Linked DNA regions of Homo sapiens: region 1 is linked to region 2. The links are contacts of gene promoters, found by promoter capture Hi-C in blood cells and fetal thymus (Javierre and others, 2016). All regions are on one chromosome and are shown on one strand. Each heading gives the region's core, a stretch centred on a gene start or on the middle of the fragment in contact. The rest is flanking DNA. Distances are from core to core; before and after follow the strand shown. Region 1 has its middle 4.1 kb from the start of SEC14L5. Region 2 holds the start of SEPTIN12 (septin 12).

Region 1 (4,661 bases), core at 928-3,427, 170 kb before region 2:
CTCTCAGGAGACTGTGAGCTCCCTGAGGGCAGGGGCAGTGGCTGCCTTATTCAGCTGCCCGCATGTTGGGAAGGATCTTACTGGGGACCTGGCAGGCAGGCAGCAGGTGCCCAGCAGACTCTTGGCTTAGGTAATCAAGGGCGGAAATGGGACACAAAGTTCCCATCCCTGTCGCAAGGTGGCAGCAAATGATAGCCCATGGCTCCTGGAGTAACACAAGGGTGAGTAGGTGGGGGACATGGGATCCAGGGATGACTGTCCTAACCCGGGCTCATCCAGGAAATGCCCAGCTCTGCCCAGGCATCGCCACAGAGCAAAGTGAACGTTAACACCGTTAGCTGCTGTTACCACCACGAAAGGCGTTAAGTCCGCCTCTCCTGCTGCCCAACATTGAGGGAGGACAATGACTGCGTGGGAGACAGAGGTGTGACAGCCCTGCGGGTACAGAGAGCTCAAAGTGGAAACTGGGGCCTGGAGGGGAGTGAGAACCCCACTCCCTCCTCCTCCAGCCCCAGGGAAGGGAATTAATAACGCCACCAACACTCACTCCAGCTTTTTTTGGGTTTTGGGGTTTTTTTTTTACGTGGAGTCTTGCTCTGTTGCCCAGGCTGGAGTGCAGTGGCGCAGTCTCGGCTCACTACAACCTCCGCCTCCCAGGTTCAAGCAATTCTCCTGCCTCAGCCTCCCGAGTAGCTGGGATTACAGGCGCTTGCCACCACACCTGGCTAATTTTTGTATTTTCAGTAGAGACAGGTTTCATCATGTTGGCCAGGCTGGCCTCAAACTCCTGACCTCAGGTGATCCACCCGCCTCAGCCACCCAAAGTGCTGGGATTACAGACATGAGCCACCACACCTGGCCCAGTTGCCTATTATTACTGTTCTACTAATTATTCCTACCACTTGTTGACACTCCATTGGCGCTTACTATACCTAGCACCATTCTAAAGCTTTACAAACACGAATGCATTTAATCCTCAAAGCAACCCCAGAGCAATGAAAATGTCTTGGAATGTGATAGAGGTGGTGGTTGCACAACGTTGCAAATGCACATGCCACTGAATTGGGGCCACAATATTAAAATGATTAATTTTCTGTTACGTGGCTTTCATCTCAATTAAAAGCCCATATACAGTCAAAACTATTTTAATCCTCATCTTACACGTAGGGAAACTAAGGCACAAGGCACAGAGAGACTGAATAACTTGCCCAAGGCCACACAGCTAGTAAGGAACTCATACCCAGGACTCTCGTTCTCCAATGACTTCTTCTCCTAGAGCTGCAGCTGATGCTCCGGGAAGATGTGATTTCCAAGCCCTGAACTGCAAGATCTCCAGGCACCCTGGCTCCAGGACAAGAAGGCGCTGCAAGGATAGGCTGATTCCCCAGGGGTGCTGGGCATGAACTCAGTCCCAGGGCAGGATCTTTAGCCTCTATCTGCTGCTTCCCACCTGCCCTGCAAGAATGACCCAGCCAATGCTGCCTTTTGTGGAGGTGGGTTTTGGGAACCCCAGAAACCACCTCATGTCTCTGAATGTCTTCCCAGCAGATGGGCCACTGCCAGAGAAGATTCAACCATTAGTGATGCATTTGTTTGAGTAAAACTCTGGACCCCATCCAAAGGCAGATGTTCCTGGAAGGCATCCTGCTGGGAATGTCCTGAGTTGAATGGCTCAGTGTGACATTGAGAATGGGGGTTAAGACCCTGGAATACATAATGGGCCCTGGGATGGCTCTGAAGCTGAAGAAGATGCAGTAAGCAGGGTACGGTCCCCAGCTTAATTTTATTGTGGCAAAATGGTCCGAGCACAGTGGCTCATGCCGGTAATCCCAACAGTTTGGGAGGCCGAGGTGGGCGGATCACCTGAGGTCAGGAGTTCGAGACCAGCCTGGACAACATGGCAAAAACCTGTCTCTACTAAAAATGAAAAAATTAGCCAGGCATGGTAGCGCATGCCTGTAATCCCAGCTACTCAGGAGGCTGAGGTAGGAGAATCACTTGAACCTGGGAGGTGGAGGGTGCAGTGAGCTGAGATCACACAACTGCACTCCAGCCTGGGCAACAGAGTGAGACTCCATCTCAAAAAAAAAAAAAAAAAAGAAAAAAATCAGCTGGGCACGATGGCTCATGCCTGTAATCCCAGCACTTTGGGAGACCGAGGTGGGCAGATCACCTGAGGTTGGGAGTTCGAGGCCAGCCTGATCAACATGAACAAACCTCGTCTCTACTAAAAATACAAAATTAGCTGGGTGTGGTGATGCATGCCTGAAATCCCAGCTACTGGGGAGGCTGAGGCAGGAGGATCGCTTGAACCCGGGAGGCAGAGGTTGCGGTGAGTCAAGATCATGCCATTGCACTCCAGCCTGGGCAACAAGAGAGAAACTCCATCTCAAAAAAAAAAAAAGCACATAACACAAAAGTTACCATTTTAACCATTTCTTAGTGTGCTGCATGCCTGTAATCCCAGCTACTCAGGAGGCTGAGGCAGGAGAATTGCTTGAACCCAGCAGGTGGAGGTTGCAGTGAGCCAAGATCATGTCATTGCACTCCAGCCTGGGTGACAGAGCGAGACTCTATCTCAAAAAAAAAAAATGCACATAACACAAAAGTTACCATTTTAACCATTTCTTAGTGTACAATTCTCTGGCTTTTGGTATATTCACAAGATGCACGTACAGCCAGCACCACTTTCTAGTTTTGGAACATTTTCATCACCCCAAAAGGAAACTCATACCCATGAAGCTGTCACTCCTCCTTCCTCCCTTCCCGCAGCCCCTGGAAACCATCCATCTGTTTATCTGCTTCCTGGGGGACATCTCATTCGTCCCGGGTGGCCTCTACGTTGTGTTGCTTCTTGCCCCTTCTCGAAGCAGAGCCCTGAGGCCTCCTGGATTTGGGAATCTCCAGGGCTATCATGATGGTTGGCAGGGCTGTTACGTACAGGTGTATAGGTTGTAACCTGCACAACTCTGTGGAACAGTCCTGGTCATGGGAGCAGCTTTGACTGAGCAGAGGCTGAGTCTGAGGCAGTCTGACCCAGGGGGCTACACAGCCAGGACCCACCCACCTTGACCCCCAGCCGGGCACCCAAGTCCATTCACTTCACAAAGACTTCTGGGCTCCACCAACTGCTACATGAAGCCCAAAGGAGAGAATGGAACACAGCGGGAGGAGGGTGGCCCAGGGGATGGGAGGGGTGGCCCTGTGGGAGGGGTCAGGTGGCCGGGCACTTGGGGCGGGTACAGGAGTCAGACCAACCTTGATGTGCGTTCTGACCCTGCCACCCCCTAGCTTTGTTGCCTCAATGTCCCCTCTTTTTTTTTTTTTTTTTTTTTTGAGACAGAGTCTCACTCTATCGCCCAGGCTGGAGTGCAATGGCGTGATCTCGGCTCATTGCAAGCTTCGCCTCCCAGGTTCATGCCATTCTCCTCCCTCAGCCTCCCGAGTAGCTGGGACTACAGGCGCCCACCACCACGCCCGGCTAATTTTTTTGTATTTTTAGTAGAGACGGGGTTTCACCGTGTTAGCCACCATGGTCTCGATCTCCCGACCTTGTCATCCACCCGCCTCGGCCTCCCAAAGTGCTGGGATTACAAGCATGAGCCACTGCGCCCAGCCAATGTCCCCTCCTTTTAACATGGGGTAACATGGGCTGTGCACAGTGGCTCACGGCTGTAATCCCAGCACTTTGGGAGGCTGAGGTGGGTGGATCACCTGAGGTCGGGAGTTTGAGACCAGCCTGGCCAACATGGCAAAACCCATCTCTGCTAAAAATACAAAAATTGGCTGGCGTGGTGGCGCACCCCTGTAATCCCAGCTACTCGGGAGGCTGAGGCAGGAGAATTGCTTGAACCCGGATTGTGGAGGTTGCAGTGAGCTGAGATCATGCCACTATACTCCAGCCTGGGCAATAGAGTGAGACTCCATCTCAAAAAAAAAAAAAAATAGGGGTAACATGAAAAATTATTCAGCATTAGAGAGGAATAAAGCACCCACACGCACTACGACTTGGATGAACCTGGAGGACATTATGCTGAACGGGCAAGAACTGAGTGATTCCACATCTGAGTCACCTAGAGGAGCCCAATCCACAGGGACAGAAAGAAGAACGGTGGCGGGGCTAGGGGCTGGGGGGAGGGGCATGGGGAGTTAATTAATGGACACAGAGTTTGGGTTTTAGAAGATGAAAAGAGTTCTGGGCCGGGCACAGTGGCTCGCGCCTGTAATCCCAGCACTTTGGGAGCCCGAGGCGGGCGGATCACGAGGTCAGGAGTTTGAGACCAGGCTGGCCAACATAGTGAAACCCCATTTCTACTAAAAATACAAAAATTAGCCGGCCATGGTGGCACGCACCTGTAATCCCAGATACTCGGGAGGCTGAGGCAGGAGAATCGCTTGAACCCAGGAGGCGGAGGTTATGGTGAGCCAAGATTGCACCACTGCACTCCAGCCTGGGCAACAGAGCGAGACTCTCAAAAAAAAAAAAAAAAAAAAAGGAGTTTTGGAGATGGATGGTGTGATGGTTACACAATAATGTGAATGCCACTGAACTGCACACTGAAAAATGATTAATTAAGATGGGCAATGTTTTATATATATCTTACTGCAATAAAAAAAATAACAGGAGCTGGTCTGAGTGCAGTGGTGTTTACAACTAATTG
Region 2 (4,604 bases), core at 68-2,567:
CATAGTGAGACCGTGTCTCAAAAAAATTTTAAAAAGGGCTGGGCGCAGGGGCTAACGCCTGTAATCCCAGCACTTTGGGAGGCCGAGGAGGGCAGATCACGAGATCAGGAGATCGAGACCATCCTGGCTAACACAGGGAAAACCAGTCTCTACTAAAAATAGGAAAAAATTAGCCGGGCGTGGTGGCAGGCGCCTGTAGTCCCAGCTACTCGGGAGGCTGAGGCAGGAGAGCGGCGTGAACCCGGGAGGCAGAGCTTACAGTGAGCCGAGATCATGCCACTAAACTCCAGCCTGGGTGACAGAGCGAGACTCCGTCTCAAAAAAAAAAAGAAAAAAAGGAAAAAAGAAAAAAAAAGGCCAGGCATGGTGGCTCACTAATCCCAACACTTTGGGAGACCAGGGTTGGTGGATCACTTGAGGTCAGAAGCTTGTGACTAGCCTGACCAATGTGGTGAAACCCCTTCTCTACTAAAAATACAAAATTAGCGTGGTGGTGCACACCGGTAATCCAGCTACTTGGGAGGCTGAGGCAAGAGAATTGCTTGAACCCAGGAGGCGGAGGTTGCAGTGAGCCGAGATCGCGCCACTGCATTCCAGCAAGGGCAACAGAGCGAGGCTGTCTCAAAAACAAACAACAAAAAAAGAAACAGCTTATCAGAGAGACAGTAAGGCAGGGGTGAGGACCACAGTCTGGAAAGCACATGGCCTATTTAAAGAGGGCATCTCAAGTCAGGGTGATAACCTCTAAGATACACCGGAAATCTAGATGTTTCTGTAAACCAGAAAAAGGCAGTAGAGGGTGAGCACACAGACTCAGAGCGGCAGAGACTCTGCCACCTCCTCACCTGACCCTCTCTTATCTATCAGCTTGGGGTAGTAACAGCACTTACTTCACAGGGCTTGATTATTAAACAAGTTAACATCTTTGGGCTCCTAGAACGATGCCATGTGCAGAGTCAGGACTGGGTAAATATTTGCTAAAGCAATCTCTTCATGTTTTTGACGCTGCAACTTAAAACACATGGCGCCAATCGTGGACACGGATATCCCGCTAGCCAGCTGTGGGGCCTGGGTTTGCTCACCCCAGCAGAGTGGTTGAGGGCGTCAGCTTGGAGGTGGGAGCCCAGCTGACGAGGGGGCCTTGGGCCCCTGGTTCTACTTGGGGATTATTGTATTATTAGGCTGGGGTCATTGTGGGGATTAGAAGGGTAACAGCTCCTGCTCCTGCTGCAGAGAAGCCTCCAGGTGGGGGTCACAGCAAGTGCAGATGGAGCTCAGATTCTTCGGTTAACTGTCACCCTCTCCCCTCCCCCATCACACACACCAGGCCCTGCCAGGACAAGGCAGCTCCTGGAAGCTCCACCAGGACCCACGTCCACCAGGTGTCACAGCAGGCTGCTTCTCTCTCTCTCTGCCCCCCGTGGGCTCTTCGCACCGCTCCCTCCCAGCCATCTTCCCTGCCTGACCTTGGTCTCTCTCTCTCTGTCTCCGTCACCTTCATGCCTGTGCCGTCTTTCTCGCTCTCTATCAACTCTGCTGTGTGTCCCCCTGGGGAAAGTGGGGGCACCTCCTCCTGAGCCCCCTGCCCAAGTTTCCTGCTGGGACGGGAGCCACTTCACCCCATACACACTCCCTGAAGCCCCTCCAGGACTCCAGCCTGGCTGCAAACACCCATCCTGGACTTTGCCTGGCCCTCCAGGCTCTGCTGGGGGAAGCGACCTGAGAGGCCCCTGCCTGGGCTGTAGGTGGGGACAGGGCAGACCCTTGGGCAGCGGAGCCTCTCTGGATGGGTGTTGAGGCACCCTGCAGAAACAGCTCCCCACAGGCACCCTTGCCACACCCCTGGGACTACAGGCACTTAGGGTACACCAGAGGCATGAAGTGTGGAGGGGGTTGGCCAACGGCCAAGCTCAAATAGGGGTTCAGATAGGAGAGGTCAATGTGGGCTCCTCTGAGCCCCAGTGACCCCCTTCTCCCCACCCACCTGGTGACAGGCATCTCGAACCCTTGGCCCCCATGGACCCCCTGAGGCGCTCCCCCTCTCCCTGCCTGTCCTCGCAGCCCTCCAGCCCCAGCACCCCACCCTGCGAGATGCTTGGTCCTGTGGGCATTGAGGCTGTGCTGGACCAGCTGAAGATCAAGGCTATGAAGATGGGGTTTGAGTTCAACATCATGGTGGTGGGTGAGTGAGAGGTAGGGCCCACGGCAGGACAGACCCACAGTGCTACGCGTGCCTGGGCGTGTGGCCTCACCTTTGGCAGCCTGTCGCCCCTCCCCATCTCTTAGGTGGGCCTGATAATAGCACCTCACAGGGATGTTGTCATTGAAAATTTGAGAAATGCTGAGTCATTAAAAGACAAAAATGTGCCTGGAGCGGTGGCTCACACCTATAATCCAGGGTTTTGGGAGACTGAGGTGGGTGGATCACTTGAGCTCAGGAGTTTGAGACTAGCAAAACCTAATGTCTACAAAAAGTACAAAAATGAGGCCGGGCATGGTGGCTCAAGCCTGTAATTCCAGCACTTTGAAAGGCCAAGGCAGGAGGGTCACTTGAGGTCAGGAGTTCGAAAACAGCCTGGCCAACATGGGGAAACTCCGTCTCTACTAAAAATACAAAAATTTGCCAGGCGTGGTGGTGGGCGCCTGTACTTAGGAGCTACTTAGGAGGCTAAGGCAGGAGAATTGCTTGAACCTGGGAGGCAGATGTTGTAGTGAGCCGAGATTGCGCCACTGTACTCCAGCCTGGGTGACAGAGCAAGACTGAAGCAGAAGGATCCCTGGAGGCCAGGAGTTCATGACCAGCCTAGGCAACACAGCAAGACCCCATCTCTACAAAAAAAATTTAAAAATTAGCCAGGCATGGTGACATGCACCTGAATCCCAGCTACTTGGGGGGCTGAGGTGGGAGGATCGTTTGAACCTGAGGGTGGAGGTTGCAGTGAGCTGCGATCACTTGAGTCTGGGTGACAGATTGAGACCCTGTCTTAAAAATTAAAAAACAGTGCAAGGCCGGGTGTGGTGGCTCACGCCTGTAATCCCAGCACTTTGGGAGGCTGAGGCAGGCGGATCATGAGGTCAGGAAATCAAGACCATCCTGGCTAACATGGTGAAACCCCGTCTCTACTAAAAATACAAAAAAATTAGCCAGGCGTGGTGGCGGGCGCCTGTAGTCCCAGCTACTTGGGAGGCTGAGACAGGGGAATGGCGTGAATCTGGGAGGCGGAGCTTGCAGTGAACCGAGATCCCACCATCGCGCTCCAGCCTGGGTGACAGAGCGAGACTGCGTCTCAAAAAAAAAAAAAAAAAAAGCAGTGCAAAAATCAGCTGGGTATGGTGGCGTGTGCCTACAGTCCCAGCTACTAGGGAGGCCGAGGTGCGAGAATCACTAGAGTCTGGGAAGGTCGAGGCTGCAGTGAACGGGGATTGCATCATTGCACTCCAGCCTGGGTGACAGAGTGAGAACCTGTCTCCAAAAATAAAATAGAAAAGTAAAGAGTTAGAGAAAAACTGCCTAAAACGCCCACCCTAACTGCTGTCATCCGGTTGCCACTCCCAGGGCAAAGCGGGCTGGGCAAGTCCACGATGGTGAACACGCTGTTCAAGTCCAAAGTGTGGAAGTCAAACCCACCGGGCTTGGGGGTGCCCACACCCCAGACGCTGCAGCTGCATTCACTGACCCATGGTGAGTGAGCCCCTGCCCACACCTCACCCCACCCTGCCCCACCCCATCCCACCTGGGTCCAGTCTCTCCCGACTCTGCTCTCCCTCCACAGTCATAGAGGAGAAGGGTGTGAAGCTGAAGCTGACGGTGACGGACACGCCCGGCTTCGGGGACCAGATCAACAATGACAACTGGTAGGTTCTCTCTCTTTTTTTTTTTTTTTAGGCAGAGTTTCACTCTTGTCACCCAGGCTGGAGTGCAATGGCATGATCTCGGCTCACTGCAACCTCCACCTCCCAGGTTCAAGTGATTCTCCTGCCTCAGCCTCCCGAAGTAGCTGGGATTACAGGCGCCCGCCACCACGCCCAGCTAATTTTTTTTGTATTTTTAGTTGAGATGGGGTTTCACCATGTTGGCCAGGCTGGTCTTGAACTCCTGACCTCAGATGATCCACCCGCCTCGGCCTCCCAAAGTGCTGGGATTACAGGCATGAGCCACTGTGCCCGCAACAAGTGGTGGGTTCTCAAAGGTGGGGGCCAAGCCATGGCTGTCCCCTCCTGTCCGTGCCCCTCCCCCTTCAACCTTTGGGAAACACCCCAGACCTGGAACAGCCAGGCTGTGTGATCTTTTTTTTTTTTGAGACAGAATCTAGCTCTTGTCGCCCAGGCCAGAGTGCAGTGACACAATCTCGGCTCACTGCAACCTCTGCCTCCTGGGTTCAAGCAATTTCCGGCTAATTTTTTTTTTTTTTAAGACAGACTCGCTCTTGTCACCCAGGCCAGAGTGCAGTGGCACAATCTCTGCTCACTGCAACCTCCGCCTCCCGGGGTTCAAGCAATTCTCCTGCCTCAGCCTCCCAAGTAGCTGGGATTACAGACATCCGCCAACACGCTCGGCTACTTTTTTGAATTTATTTAGTAGAGACGGGGTTTCACCACGTTGG

The links. Contacts are between HindIII fragments. The CHiCAGO score rates a contact against its expected background, and 5 or more counts as called.
Region 1: a contact is called between a fragment that was not itself captured here and the fragment with the promoter of SEPTIN12 in region 2, in 1 of 17 cell types (endothelial precursors). The highest score is 6.0, in endothelial precursors.

What each region holds. Positions count from the first base shown.
Region 1 is chr16:4,951,856-4,956,516 of GRCh38, reverse strand. No RefSeq gene overlaps it. Among named protein-coding and RNA genes, the nearest start is that of SEC14L5, 4.1 kb to the left of the region's middle. The HindIII fragment of the contact is 2,451 bases long and covers 952-3,402 here.
Region 2 is chr16:4,785,058-4,789,661 of GRCh38, reverse strand. It overlaps SEPTIN12 (septin 12), which reads left to right and starts at 1,317. Exons shown (of 10, transcript NM_144605.5): 1 at 1,317-1,382; 2 at 1,995-2,182; 3 at 3,557-3,682; 4 at 3,774-3,855. The coding sequence starts at 2,017. It also overlaps a transcript of SMIM22 not described here. The HindIII fragment of the contact is 19,587 bases long and covers 430-4,604 here.